Regions from separate parts of the Homo sapiens genome. Here region 2 is linked to region 1. Evidence: promoter capture Hi-C in human tissues and cell types (Jung and others, 2019). All regions are on one chromosome and are shown on one strand. Each heading gives the region's core, a stretch centred on a gene start or on the middle of the fragment in contact. The rest is flanking DNA. Distances are from core to core; before and after follow the strand shown.

Evidence for each region. Contacts are between HindIII fragments. The study calls those that stand out against the background at their distance.
Region 2: a fragment that was not itself captured here is called in contact with the fragment with the promoter of PREPL in region 1 in 1 of the 25 tissues and cell types used here (aorta).

The regions. Positions count from the first base shown.
Region 1 is chr2:44,358,507-44,365,375 of GRCh38, forward strand. It overlaps PREPL (prolyl endopeptidase like), which reads right to left and starts at 2,988. Exons shown (of 14, transcript NM_001171613.2): 1 at 2,874-2,988. It overlaps CAMKMT (calmodulin-lysine N-methyltransferase), which reads left to right and starts at 3,441. Exons shown (of 11, transcript NM_024766.5): 1 at 3,441-3,639. The coding sequence starts at 3,502. RefSeq lists enhancers at 2,360-3,254, 2,631-3,830, 3,067-3,536, 3,255-4,148. The HindIII fragment of the contact is 8,691 bases long and covers 45-6,869 here.
Region 2 is chr2:45,438,620-45,445,488 of GRCh38, forward strand. The region is part of intron 16 of SRBD1 (S1 RNA binding domain 1); the gene reads right to left. Among named protein-coding and RNA genes, the nearest start is that of SRBD1, 170 kb to the right of the region's middle. The HindIII fragment of the contact is 3,880 bases long and covers 703-4,582 here.

The sequences.
Region 1 (6,869 bases), core at 1,738-4,237:
GGGATGTCAAAGCAGCAGCAGCACAAATAGATCATTTAATCCTACTTACTGTAGGATGACCATATAATTTACCATTCTAACCAGGACACTTTTGAGAGGAAAGGGGACACTATTAATAATTACACAGGGACAACAGGTGTAGGCTGGAGCTGTGCCAGGCAAAAGTGGTTATGTGGTTACTCTCTATATAAGGGCAATCAGGTCCTTAAGGTTGAGTTCACGCCCACAGCTTGGGGTCTGGCAGAAGTACAATACTCTGACAGTGTCTTCCTGAATGACTCAAGTGGTCAAAAACGCAAGATTATTTTTCATTTTTTTACAGAGAAATAAAATACAATTCATGGCCTTTACTGAAGTTTACTGATTTGTGATTCATAAAACAATTAGCGTATCATTAGATTTTATTAAGAGCTATAATTTAGTGTTCTAGGAAATTTAGAAGGCCGAATTATACTTTGAAATGCACTGGCAGGCATACTAAGGAAGTCCTGAGGTGAATCATTTTTTATAAACCTACATTTTTATATATTACATTAGAGCCCTATAAATATATGTATACACTTTTTTTTTTTTTTTTTTTTTCAGACAGAGTCTCCCTGTCACCCAGGCTGGAGTGCTGTGGTGCGATCTCAGCTCACCGCAACCTCTGCCTCCTGGGTTCAAGAGATTCTCTGCCTCAGCCTCCCAAGTAGCTGGGATTACAGGTGGGTGCCATGACGCCTAGCTAACTTTTGTATTTTTAGTAGAGACAGGGTTTTACCATGTTGGCCAGGCTGGTCTCGAACTCCTGACCTCAGGTGATCTGCCTGCCTCGATGTATATACTCTTTTATACTTACTTTTGACTAGAGACAATTGAGACTTGAAAATTAGAAAAATCAAGTTAGAATTACTGAGAAAATTAGTAGCTCTGATATTCTACCCATTCTTTATTTTTAAATTAAAATTAATCTTAATGACCTACAAATAGGTTAACTTAAACAGTCCATACCTTACATGAGAAGCTCCGACTTGGGATGTTTCTTGCTAACTCTGATATCTTGGGTTTATTCTGAAGACACTTGGTTAGGTGATATTTTTTCAATTTTATTCTATTGTAACAATGATCAGCGAAGTTATAGTGATTCAAATGCTGTTTCTGCATGCATTTTCCAAGGTGAGGAATACTATACTTCAAAGCTTGGAGAAATAATTTGGTCTTCTGCTGCATGATATCAAAGTCCCTGGTTTATGCTCCTTTTGGGGCTGCCAGCACACGAATGATTTTATAGGTATGATTACAGAGTAGTGGGTTCTCAGAGTAACTAAGATCAGCAGTTCTCATCCCTCCTTTTCAGGGCCATGCCCCACTTAGGTTATGAATAACTTCAGACAGCTGATAACTTAGGCTAACTAAATCTAAAAACCTGTGTAAGTTAAAGTTTCATTCAAATCATAATTCTTGGCAGATGTGACTTAAATGTCTCATTTGTAAAGTTAATCCTATCAGGCTCAAACTATGCAGCACTGACTCTGGCACACATAGGGGTTAAACTAAAACAAAAAACAAAACAAGAAACAAAATATAAATTTGCAAATAAGTACACAGACTTAATGGGGTATCTCAGGAACTCAGGGCTGTAAAAGGTAAAAAGCCCTTTGGTCTTACATAATTATGAACGTATCTTTGGTATATATGTGGAAGATAAACTGGAAAAGCCTAATTATTTAATAAAGGTGGGGGAGGGAAGATTAATTATTGTTGAGTGTTAACTAACTGCCAGGTGCTTTTATCTTGTTTGTCTAATTTAAATTTTATATGGACTTAATAAAGTAGATATTACCATGCACATTTTACAGGTTGCCAAACTGTGGCTGTGGGAGGTTCTAAGCAACTGTTCCAGGTCACTTGTACAGTAAGCTGTATAGCAAAAAATCCAATTTGGTTCGGTTCCAAATACTGGACATACTCAACTTCGGATTTTTAATGTTAAAAAGGTATTTAGCGCTTTAATTAAAAACAACAAAAAACCCCTGCAAGATGCACAAATAAAATGTAAGGCCATCTCTGGTTTGTCAGGAGGTAGCTTTTATTAACCTTGATTGCTAATAAGTAGTTAAGAGTCAGAGAGACCTGGGTTGAGGTCTTAGCTCCTACACTTAACTGTGTCTCCGGGCCTCAGTTTCTTCATCTGCAAAAATGAAATGACACCATTTACCTTCTAGGGTTGTTGTTGTAAAGACAAAATGAGACAGCTTAACATTAAGACCATACAGTGCCTGGCACATAGTGACCACTCAATAAATGGCAGTTGCTATTATTTACGACAGGAATAATCTAGGTATGTTGCACACCGCTGAATGTCATTATGGAAGTCTTCCACAAAATGCCCCCTGGTATCAAAGGTAGAATGCTGCGTCAAATTTACCATAGATCAGATGCGCTACGACGCCCCCGCCCCCCTTAATCCCTTTCCATGTCGCAGCAAAATAATGGGCGATTGGGGGTAGGGGAGCAACACTAGTTTACTAGCCGACACTAGTAAAAAAAGGGGAAAAAAGACCCGAATAACAAGGACCTGCAAAGGTCCTACATCACCACGTTCCCACAGCCTTTATCCATCCATCTTTCATCCCCAAGAAGACAGTATGCAAGGCTAGGATGGGGGTGGGGTAGATAAATGGGTGTTCTCAGGAGAACCTATTCGTTTACCCCGTGCAACTCTCCACCCCAGGGATGAGGCGATCTGAATGCAACAGGGAGAGGGACCAGGTGACACGCACGCAGTGCCGGGACATTAGTCAAAAAGCGAGGACCTGGGGACTGAGGGGTGGGTGGCTGGGCGGGGGGAGAAAGGGGAGAAGGAAAGAGACCAGCACACCCCCCATACATACGCAAATTGAGAGAATCAGTCCGGCTCTGGACACAAACCAGTGAAGGCAGGCCGGAGAACCTGAAGCTCTCAGAGGGGAGCAGGTGTCACCGCAGGCAAGTCCAGCCGAAGTCTGCGTTCCGCAGCCCACAGAACGACAACTTACCCAGAGCCGCCTAGAGCTGGTTTGCAGCACGCCAATCTACGTAACCTCAATCTAGCACGAGCAACAGGCAGATTTCGCCATCTTTGTTGTGGTCAAGGAGTCTTCTTGGGTTCCTGGGTTCTTTAGTCTCGAAATATATAAGACTTTTCGTTCTTCGCTAGTCTTCTGAGCTCGAGATGAAGCACAGAAGGCTAAAACAATGAGGGACAGCGTTCCAGTAGCCCTGCCACAGCTCTCTCATCCTCTGGTCCGCCCTCACTCAAGATGGCTACCAGCAAGAATGGTGCAATGGCGTGACAGCTCGGCCCTGGTTGCCAAGGAGATGCGAGTACCGGAAATGCGGAATTCGGGGAGAGCGCGCATGCCTGGTCCGGTGGAGGGAGGGTGCCGGGCGTCACAGGTCCTGACAGGGAAGAAGTTGGCAGGTCCTGGCAGGGGACGAGCTGCGGCGGTGGCACCTCCGGGTGTGGAAGGCTCCAGTGAGATGGAGTCGCGAGTCGCGGACGCTGGGACCGGCGAGACCGCGCGAGCAGCGGGCGGGAGTCCGGCAGTTGGCTGCACCACTCGGGGGCCCGTAGTCTCGGCGCCCCTGGGAGCCGCCCGGTGGAAGCTCCTGCGGCAGGTAAGGGAGAACCTGCTCGCCTCACCTTTGCCTCTGGTCACTCCTCTCTCACGTACCGGGGGAGCGACTGTTCGCAGTTCTTTCCTCTTGGCAGCTCTGGGAGACCCTTCTCAGTTTGCCGGGAGCCACCTGCGAAGCTCCCCCTCGCTTCACCTAAGCGTCCCATCCAAGAGGAGGAATCATGTGGGGTTGGGTGGGGAGCGGGACAGCCAAGGCTGAGCTCCTGGGAAACTCAGATCGAAGTAGAAGAACCCCTTCTAGACATTTTTGTGCGTCTGGGGGACTTTTCCCCTTCTCGCCAGTCTCTGGTGCGCCCGCCGCTCCCCACTGCTCTTTTCCTGCTTCTGTTTTGCCTCCTTCCCCAGTTTCTTCTAGCTTAACTCCCAGCCTGGTTCGAGTTACCGATATTCGTCTGCACCCTCTGGCCCCGTCTTTTGCCCAGCGTGGTTGACTATGCCGGGACTGAGACACGGCATGCGTTCCCTCGGCATCTTCCGTACAGCGGAGCGTGCAAGGAGTAGGAAAAGCTGATACCCTCTCTCACTGAGGTCTCAAAGTTAAATGATTATCTTGTAGTTTGTAGTGATCAGCGAGATTCTCCGTGTCCAAGGTGGGCTAGTCAAAGTGTGTTCGTTTTTGAATGATGGTATCTTCTGGTACTTCAAAGTTTCTGCTGTTACTTACAACTCCACTCGTGCAAGCTTGACGGAAGTTCTGATTTATGATCACTCACATTCTTCGCTCACTTCTTGAAGTGAAGTCTGGTTATTGTTTTTGCATAGCAGTGTTATGCCTCTGCCTGAAGTTTTCTGCCGAAAACTTTACTCAGGAGGACATTTTTCCATTTCTGACAGTTGTGTTTGGAAAAGAGTTTCCCAGCTATTGCCACTTTACTTGAGATTGTGCTTTTAGTATTTTGGGGATCACTTTGTTTGCAGTTGCCTTGAGTCACCTTTTCATACAGTGGTCTTTTAGTGCTTTTAGAGTTATGAGTTAAGTAGATCATCAGAGTTAATTAAGATTTATTTGCTGATACATTGACAGTCTTTCCAGACCAGTAATGATCTGGTTTTGCTATTGTTACAAATGGTATTACAGGATAAGAAAATGCATGTCCTCACAGATCATCATAGGAAGTATCTATAATAAAGTAAATATCTAATTTTTTTTAATAGTGACCACTGAAATGAGATCTGGCGTGAGCTGGGGAGAGTGGACTCAACCCCCCTTCCCCCCTCCTTTTTTTTTGAAATGGAGTTTCCCTCTTGTTGCCCAGGCTGGACTGCAATGGCTGCCATCTCCGCTCACCACAACCTCCGCCTCTAGGGTTCAAATGATTCTCCTTCCTCAGTCTCCCCAGTAGCTGGGATTACAGGCATGCACCACCACGCCTGGCTAATTTTTTTTTTTTTTAAGTAGAGACGGGGTTTCTCCATGTTTGTCAAGCTGGTCTCGAACTCCCCACCTCAGGTGATCCACCCACCTCGGCTTCCCAAAGTACTGGGATTACAGGCATGAGCCACCGTGCCCGGCAACCCCCTTCTTTTTTTTTTTTTTTTTTCGATACAGAGCCTTACTGTGTTGCCCAGACGTGAGTGCAATGGCGCAATCTCGGCTCACTGCAGCCTCCGCCTCCCTGGTTCAAGCAATTCTCCCGTACTCAGCCTTCCGAATAGCTGGGATTACAGGTGCTCGCCATTACGCCCAGCTAATTTTTGTGTTTTTAGTAGAGACGGAGTTTCGCCATGTTGGCCAGGCTGGTCTCAAACTCCTGACCTCAGGTGATTCACTTGCCTCGCCTCCCGAAGTGCTGGGATTACAGGTATCAGCCACCATGCCTGCCACGCCCACCGCCCCCACCCTTCCTTTTTTTTTTTTTTTTTTTTTTAAATAAGATAGAGTCTTGCTTGTTGCCCAGGCAGGTAACTCCTGGGCTCAAGCAATCCTCCCACCTCAGCCTCCTGAGTAGTTGGAATTACAGGGGTATGCCATGATACCTGGCTTTCAGTGATTCTCAGTATAGTAAAAACTACAGCACTTATGTTCATTCTAAATTGCGGTCTAAATGAAAACAGTGACAAGTTTCAGCTGTGGCTGTTACATGAAGTCCCCACACGTTCTGACATCGAAACTTTTGGTATATATCTGCCTGCTTATAGTCTTTTTATCTTCTCTACTTGGTGAATGATTGTTCATTCTTCACACTTCCATTTCAAACTACTCTTCTGTGAAGCCACCCCTAATGCCTCTGGGCTAAGTTAGACCCTCAGCCAACTCTACCAATGAGCCCTTTATATTATTTTATGATCATGTGATCAGGGTCTCTTTTTCTTACTAGAATGGGCATTCACCCTGGGAAAAGGTGATGTTTTATTAATTTACATCCTCTGCACCTAGCACAGGGCCTGGTTAATTGATTTTTAGTAGATGTTGTTCAGTGTCTGTGGAAAGCCTGAGAGTAAGGACAGTCTTTAAGTGGCGCATAGCACCTAGTCCTTAGTGTATTTTATCAGTAAGCTATTGCTAAGTAAGAACCGCAACATCACAGTGGCATACAACAGTTAGTATTTATTTTGTTGGTGCATCTGGGGGCCACCTGGGAGCTGACCGACATAGGCTGTAGTCATCTGGGTATCTCTATGATGCACATGTGGTCCATATGTCTCTAATCTTTGGACTAGTGGGCTGAAGTCCTCATGGTGATAGCAGAGGTATAAGAGCAAGCCCAACCACAGAGACACATTTTAAACCCCTGCTCACATCATGTGTTTATTTCCTATTGGCCAAAGTAAGATATTTGGCAAAGGCCAAATTCAAGGGGCAGGGAAATACAACTCCTTCCTTGGAGGTGACAAAGAGGAAGTGAATATTTTTCTATTACAATTTAATCGATCACATATATTAAACATTTACAAGCTCTTAGTAAATGTATTTCAAATGAATGAACCATTCCTATCCTATATGCATCTAGTACTGGAAAACTATAAGGAATCTAAGCAGTGCTAGAGATATGTGACTCCTTTTCTCGCTCGTGGGACATCTGAAGAACATCTGCTCTGTCTACTTGTTTTTTCCTTTAAAATTCTGTCTTTCCATTACCCTATAGAGCTCCAAGGCTGTCTCATGGCCTTTTACTTTATGTTAACTATTCAGTATTTTCTGTGTTTTGTAATTAACAAAACATAGGTTTTGAGAGAAAACCTGGTTGACCTAGTGCATCATTTGGTTCC
Region 2 (6,869 bases), core at 1,393-3,892, 1.1 Mb after region 1:
AATAAATAAATCAGTGAACACGAAGAGAGATATGCAGAAATTATCCTATCTGAAGACCAGAAATAAAAAAAGAAGGAGAGGCGAGGATGGGGGGTATAAAAGAACCTTAATGAACTGTGGGACAAGATCACAATGCACAACTATATGTAACTGGAGTCCTGAGAGGGAAAGAGAGAATAGGGCAGATAAATATTTGAAGTAGTAACAAAACTTTCCCCAATTTTTTCAAAAACATAACATAATGTAAAGATGCAAGAAGCTCAGTGAACCCTAAGAAGGACAAAAACAAAGAAAACTATACCTAGAAACTTTATGGTCAAACTGCTGGAAAACAAAGATAAAGGGAAAATTGTCAAAGTAGCCAGAGAGAATGTACATGTTATATATGGAGGAACAACAATATGAGTAATGGTTAACTTTTTATCAGAAACAACAGAGGCCAGGAGACAATGAAACGGTATCTTTAAAGTGCTGCACACACACATACACACACCACAACCACTTGTCAACCTCAAATTCTATATCTTTAAAGATAACGGAAAAGGGATTTTTAGATAAATGAGATCTCATTGCCAGCAGACCTACACTACAAAAAAATTTTAAAGGGAATTTTGCAGACTAAAGGAAATTGACACCAGCTGGAAAATATATGGGTAAATATAAAATTGTGCGTGTTTATTCTAATTTTACTTAAAAGACATAAAACCAGAAAGCAAAAAGTAAAACATGGTATTCTAGGACATATATATATATATATATAAAACAATTGATGAATGCATATATATATATATGCATATATATATAGCACAAAGAAGGAGGTGAGGTGGTAAAATATTAACCACTGTTGACTGAGAAGATATGACTGTGTATTATAATCCCTAGAGTAACCACTTTAAAAAAAATGCAAAGAAGTATAGCTGAAAAGTCAACAGAATTAAAATGAAAAACTAAAAATGATTTGATTTTCTGCCAAAATAAGGCAGAAAAGGAACAAGAAATGATCAAAAAGCAGATGGGACAAACAAAGCAAACAGCAAAACTGTAGACCTTAATTCAGTTATATTAATACTTATATTAAATGTTAGTAAAAACTCCAACTAAAAAGCAAAAATTGTCTATAAAGACTGTATCACTTAAAATCTTTGCATTTTTTTCTGCAGGTAGATCATACCGAAAAAAAAAAAGAACCATAAGTAAAAAATACAACCTAAGTTTCTAACCTGGTAGGCCAGATAATCAGTTTAGAAGACAACAGCAGTGCCCTTAACATCTGTCTCTCGGGTTTCATAGCTAGTGGCCGGGGTGCAAAATATAGAACACTTCTGGTTTTTGTCCACTGCAATCTGATAGCAGATGTCCTCCCCAGATGTCTCACCTCCTGACTCTAAAAGGTAATCCTTTTCTATATAAAGTATTTTGTAAAGCCAGAATCATTCTCAGCATAGCTTCTGTAGACCACATAGGTAGTCAGTTAATGACACAAGCTTGCTAGTTAGCTGCTTGTTTGGTTCTCATTCCATAAATAGACGTTAAGATACTGATCCTGCCTTTAAAAGTTTCTGGTGATGATTAAAATTTAAACAAAATATATAACTTCTTTATGAATCATGAAACTAAAAAAATGAGTCTTTTTGTATGTTATCTAAGAGTCCTGTGTTTAAATTTTAATGCAGACAAACTTTCATTCTTTCCTCCAGTAGGTGTTCTTATGTCCCCTAGTGGATACAGGTCGATATGGTGGACGAATGATAGGGCAATACTGGCTAAGTAAAGGTTCATAAATCCTAAATGTCTGCCTTGCCCACATATTTTTCCAAACCAGTACCTTGCACTATTCTAATTTACCATAAACAAAGAAAACATTAGTATATCTGAACTGGACCACACCTATCTGCCCCCATGTGTGGTCACTGGGCTAAAACATAGTTCTGGCTCATGACATATGCATGAACAAATGCACACCAATTAGCTACACATTTTGACCTGACATAATACAAAGGAGTTGACATTTCCACTGTAAATCTCTATTTTTAGAGATTTATAGCTTAGTCATAAAAGTGGACTTTAGAAAAATCAAGAGTGCAAACTTTTAGCCATAAGAAAGAATTTTTCCCTTCTAATAAATTAAAACAGTGTGTAGAAAATCTGATCTGAAACTATGGTTCTGTGTGAGAGAGACAGAAAGAGAGAGACAGAAATAGAGGGAAGGAGGGAGGGAAGGCAGGGAGGCATCCTCCTGGTGTTCAGAAATTTTGACAGCCATGTTTAAATTATTTGTCTGTTTGAGGAGACAGAGGTTGGAGAAAAAAAGAGTATTAACGCATAATAATAAAAAAAGGCTTTTCTTCTCCACATGTAGAAAAAAGGCTCTTTCCTAATGTTTCCAGTAGTAAGTTCTAAAGATACATTTTCTCTTCCCAAATACACATACATGTATGTGGCCACACATGTAGTCAGATGTGAACTGGCTTCCAGCCCATTATTATTATAGACAGTAAACCTTTCAAATTAGACCTGAGGCTGACACTGCCAGGACAGGATCCACATTAATGTGGAGTCAGAGAGTTAATATGGAAAGGAAAGGTTTCCTTTCGCTTCCATGTCCCATCTCTACATAACCATGGCGACAGAGCCCAGGCACTCCATGTGATCTGCAATGATCCTCCACACCTAGCCTCATGCACTGGTGGCAGTGAAGACCAGGCTGCAAAACTCTGCCTCCCATACTGTTCCTATCCCCATTTCCTATTTTATCCATAGTATTTATTATCACCTGATGCACACAGGTGTGTATGTGTGTAAGTAAATAAATATGATTTGTTATTGTATCCTGGTACATAGTACGTACTCACTCTAACTGCTGCTTTAATTTTATTTCCTTAAGTACTGGTTTAGTTGAAGATCTCTTTGTTCATTTGCTGGCCATTTAGACTTTTCTTTGTATTCCCACTTCTTAACACCATGCTTCTTAGTACATAGTAGCTACTCAATAAATTGGGTAAAGGAAGGAAAAACCAGGGACAAATTTCTAACAGTTCGGCTTTTGGATTCTTCTTGCTGAAGCTGGGAATTTGGTTTAAGAAAAAGAATTGCCCTAAAATAGGAGGAGATACTGGTGACGTGGCATTGCTTGAGGGCATTACAGCAGCACAATCTCAATTCCTATTATAGAAACGCTTTCTTAGCAGGCATCAATCAACAGCAAACTCAGAAATTTTAAAGTGAAATTTAAGATGTCCTAACATGTTAAGACTGACCATAGCCATAGGCCCTCCCACTCCAAGCTGCCAAATTCTCATGCCAATACTTTCTGGGTAGGTTTTTAGGTCAATAAAGAGTTCCTGTTAACTCACACCCTAGTCAGACTAATCTCTGATGCTTTAATTGGAAATGTTTAAGTCTTTCTTTTCCTGGGAACTCAAAACTTAAGCTTCTGTCGCTTCAAACATGAACTAAAGTACAGCATCTTGTCATACAATAAAAAGATACCAAAGAAGCTGGGAGATTTAGAACCGGTATGCAAAGACACACTAGGAAGTCCTGACATGTCAGCTCCCAGGTCAAGCCTTATGAAACTCATTTATGGGATGTCATTTACCACAGACAGATTCTCTATCTTATAACTGACATGGTCAGAAACCAATTAAGCACCTCTAACAGAAAGGTCCAACAGCATACGTTGGTACAGACACATACCTTGATGCAATTAATAGATATGGGAAAAAACTTATATGAAAATGTTGCCTTTAGACATAATCTTTTCTTTAATGTTCATTGTAGTAGGACTCATTTTCCTGCAATATCTCCCGTTCTGGGAGAATTAGGTGAAACCACACCCATTTGACCCACAGACTAACTGTGCCGTGGACAACGGCTAGGTCACAGAGTTAAAGAAAATACAAATTGAAGAATTCTGGAATTTAGAAAAGAGATATGGATATTACTAACTCCTCTTTACCAGGGAGAGAATCCTACGGTATAGGAACCAAATGTTGGTCCTTAAAGAAACAGCTATATGAGCAAGATCAGGACTCAGATAATTCATCTTATTCATTCTCAACCCATCAAGGGAATATTCTATTGGAGTAAATCTCAGCTTAGAACTGACAGTTTATTTTAAGTAAGTTTGGGTTTTAAAGTGAATCAGCAACTTATTTCCATTTTAGTTTGAGAGTTTTCTGACACTGAGAAGAAATGGAGATAAGGCAGTCTAGCTACCTTTACATGCCACCCTTTTATAATATTCTAACAAAATTTCTTTCCTTCTCTGGAGGCAGTAGTGTCTCGTCCCTAAAAGTAAGTTTGTAATAAATATCTACTGTTTTGAATGGCCACACGTAGTAACAAGCTACAGTGCTGAAATTGAAAGGAGGGCAATCTGGCTGAGACATAACCAAAAAAAGGGGAAAGTACTAAGAAATAAGGCTGGAGAGTAGACAAGCTCTTGTAAGTCTCCATGGCAAGGAGTTTGAATTTTATTCCAGAGACAACGGGAACAGAGATGGGATCTGACATACTTTTTAAAAATTATGCTGTAGAAAATGGATTTTAAAAAGACAAAAGTGAAAACAGGAAGTCCTGGTAAGAGACTTTCTCAGTATATCAAGAGGGAGATGATGGCTGCCTAGAGTCAGGTAGCTGGAGGAAAAAGAGGGAAAGAAGCAGATGGAGTTAATAGTAGAGAATGATGAAGCAAAAGGAAGAATAAAGAATCTTAATAACAAGAAGTTTTTAATGACAACAGGTTTGCAGTTTTACTAATTGGGCAGATGATGATGCCATTAATAGAAACAGGGAAGGATAAGACAGTACTGCGGTTTTAATTTTAAAATTTTGGTGGGGGGGATTAGTGGAGGGACGTCAACAGTTTTTTTCTAGACATGTTAAGTTTGAGAAGCCTATTAGACTTCCAAATTGAAAGGTTAAGATGGCAGGTGGACATATGGAGTTTGGAGTTCAGGGACGAGATCAATGGTGTTTAAGGTAGAAACTGTCTAGCATGCAGATGGGAAGAACACTGTAAACATCTAAAACTTTGGCAGACAGGCAGGGTGTGGTAGGGAGAAGAACCAGTAACATCAGGGAATAAAGTGGAAATGTGTATACTGTAAGCAGCTAAGTAAACAAAGAAAAACAAAACAACTCTTTTGCAGTGGTTATATGCAAATAGTTCTGAAGTTATTTTGAAAAAAAAAAAAAAAAAGAGGTGATAACTACCCACTAGTTTTACAAAGAGTGTTGCTTCCAGATTTTTTCTTACGCATATCTAGTAATTTTCATCAGACCAGGCGCTTAATCTTTAATGACAGGTACTCCATAAATGTCTATTACAGGGCTGAATTTCCAGAGAAATATTCATAATCTGGTGCAGCTGTTTTTTATTCTAAGGGGCAAAATACAAAATGTTACAGAGAATCTACAGGAAGTTTTAAAGTTCTTCAACAGCTCTACATAAGAAAATCCATTTTACAGTACTAACACCAGAACATATTAATATTTATACTGGCCAGGAGCAGTGGCTCACACCTATAATACCATAACTTTGGAAGGACAAGGCGTGAGGATCTCTTGAGGTCAGGAGCTTGAGACCAGCCTGGGCAACATAGTGAGACCCTAACTTTACAAAAAAAATTAAAAATTACCTGGGTGTGGTGGTGCACCTGTAGTCCTAGCTACTCAGGAGACTGAGGTGGGAGAGTCACTTGAGCCTAGAAGTTAGAGATAACAATAACAAGCTTATCATTTCTTTACCAAAATATCCACATAACTTTAGTAAAGAAATAAGCTTGTTAATATGTAAAGACATGGAAACCTCCTGTATACACTTGGGTGAAGGTGGGACAGTGGTAATTTTTTTTAAATCTTTTTTCCTTCTTTTCCCAAAGAATCACTTTTAACTTTTCAGGGTAAGTTTAAAATAGCTTTGCTTTGAATGAATCCTTTTTGTTCATTATTTAAAAATCAAAATATGCAAATAAATAGACAAAGGACCACACTATACTGGTTCAAAGTTCTTTATCCTTCTTCTTTAGTTAAAAATAATCACATACATATGTTAGTTGGCATCATAATTGGGATAATTTCAATAATCTTTTTCTCTAAATTTCCTCTGAATGTACTTCTCAACTGCTCAAATACTAATGCTCTTCTGCACTGGCATCAGAAGCCACTCAAGTTGGGGAACTCCTTTGGTATCAGTAAGAGACAAAGCCTCTGGCCCTGTGACCACTCAACGTTCATTCAGCAAAGGCAACCTTCTGGCATGAAAGTAAGCCTTCAGAAGTCAGTCAGAAAGAATGATGCAAAATTTCTTGAAAACTTTGCCAGATGATGAACATAAAAAGTAGAGGGCAAAATAACATTGTCAAATTTGCTCTCCATTTTAGGAACTCAAGGCAAGACAAAAGTCATCCCGACCACAGTAGACAATGTTTCCATTGCTTTTAACTAATCCAGTAGAAAAAGCATCTAAAGTTTCAGGCATTTAAGAGTGACAATTGTCTTTCAGACAGTTGGAAAGGATGTGAAAAAACACTTGTTGGAATAAACGGAATGTGCCTTGGCTTCTGTGGTCAAAATTTCTGGGACTCAGCTGAAAAAAGATTCTGGCTTAAGACTTACATGGTTTTCATCACCCCATAAACATTAACATTATTGATGCAGATCTGTCACTTGAAATATTTTACCCATATCCTCCACTGCAAGGAATTTTCTTTTTACCCATTCATCTCTAGTGACAAATTTGTGGCATTTACAAATTTAAAAGGCTGTCAAAATCTAATAATGAAATCTTGGGGGGAGTCACATGGGGGCACAGATCAGAAGGAACCAAAATTAATTTTAGAGGATTTACTACATAGGTTAGGGGT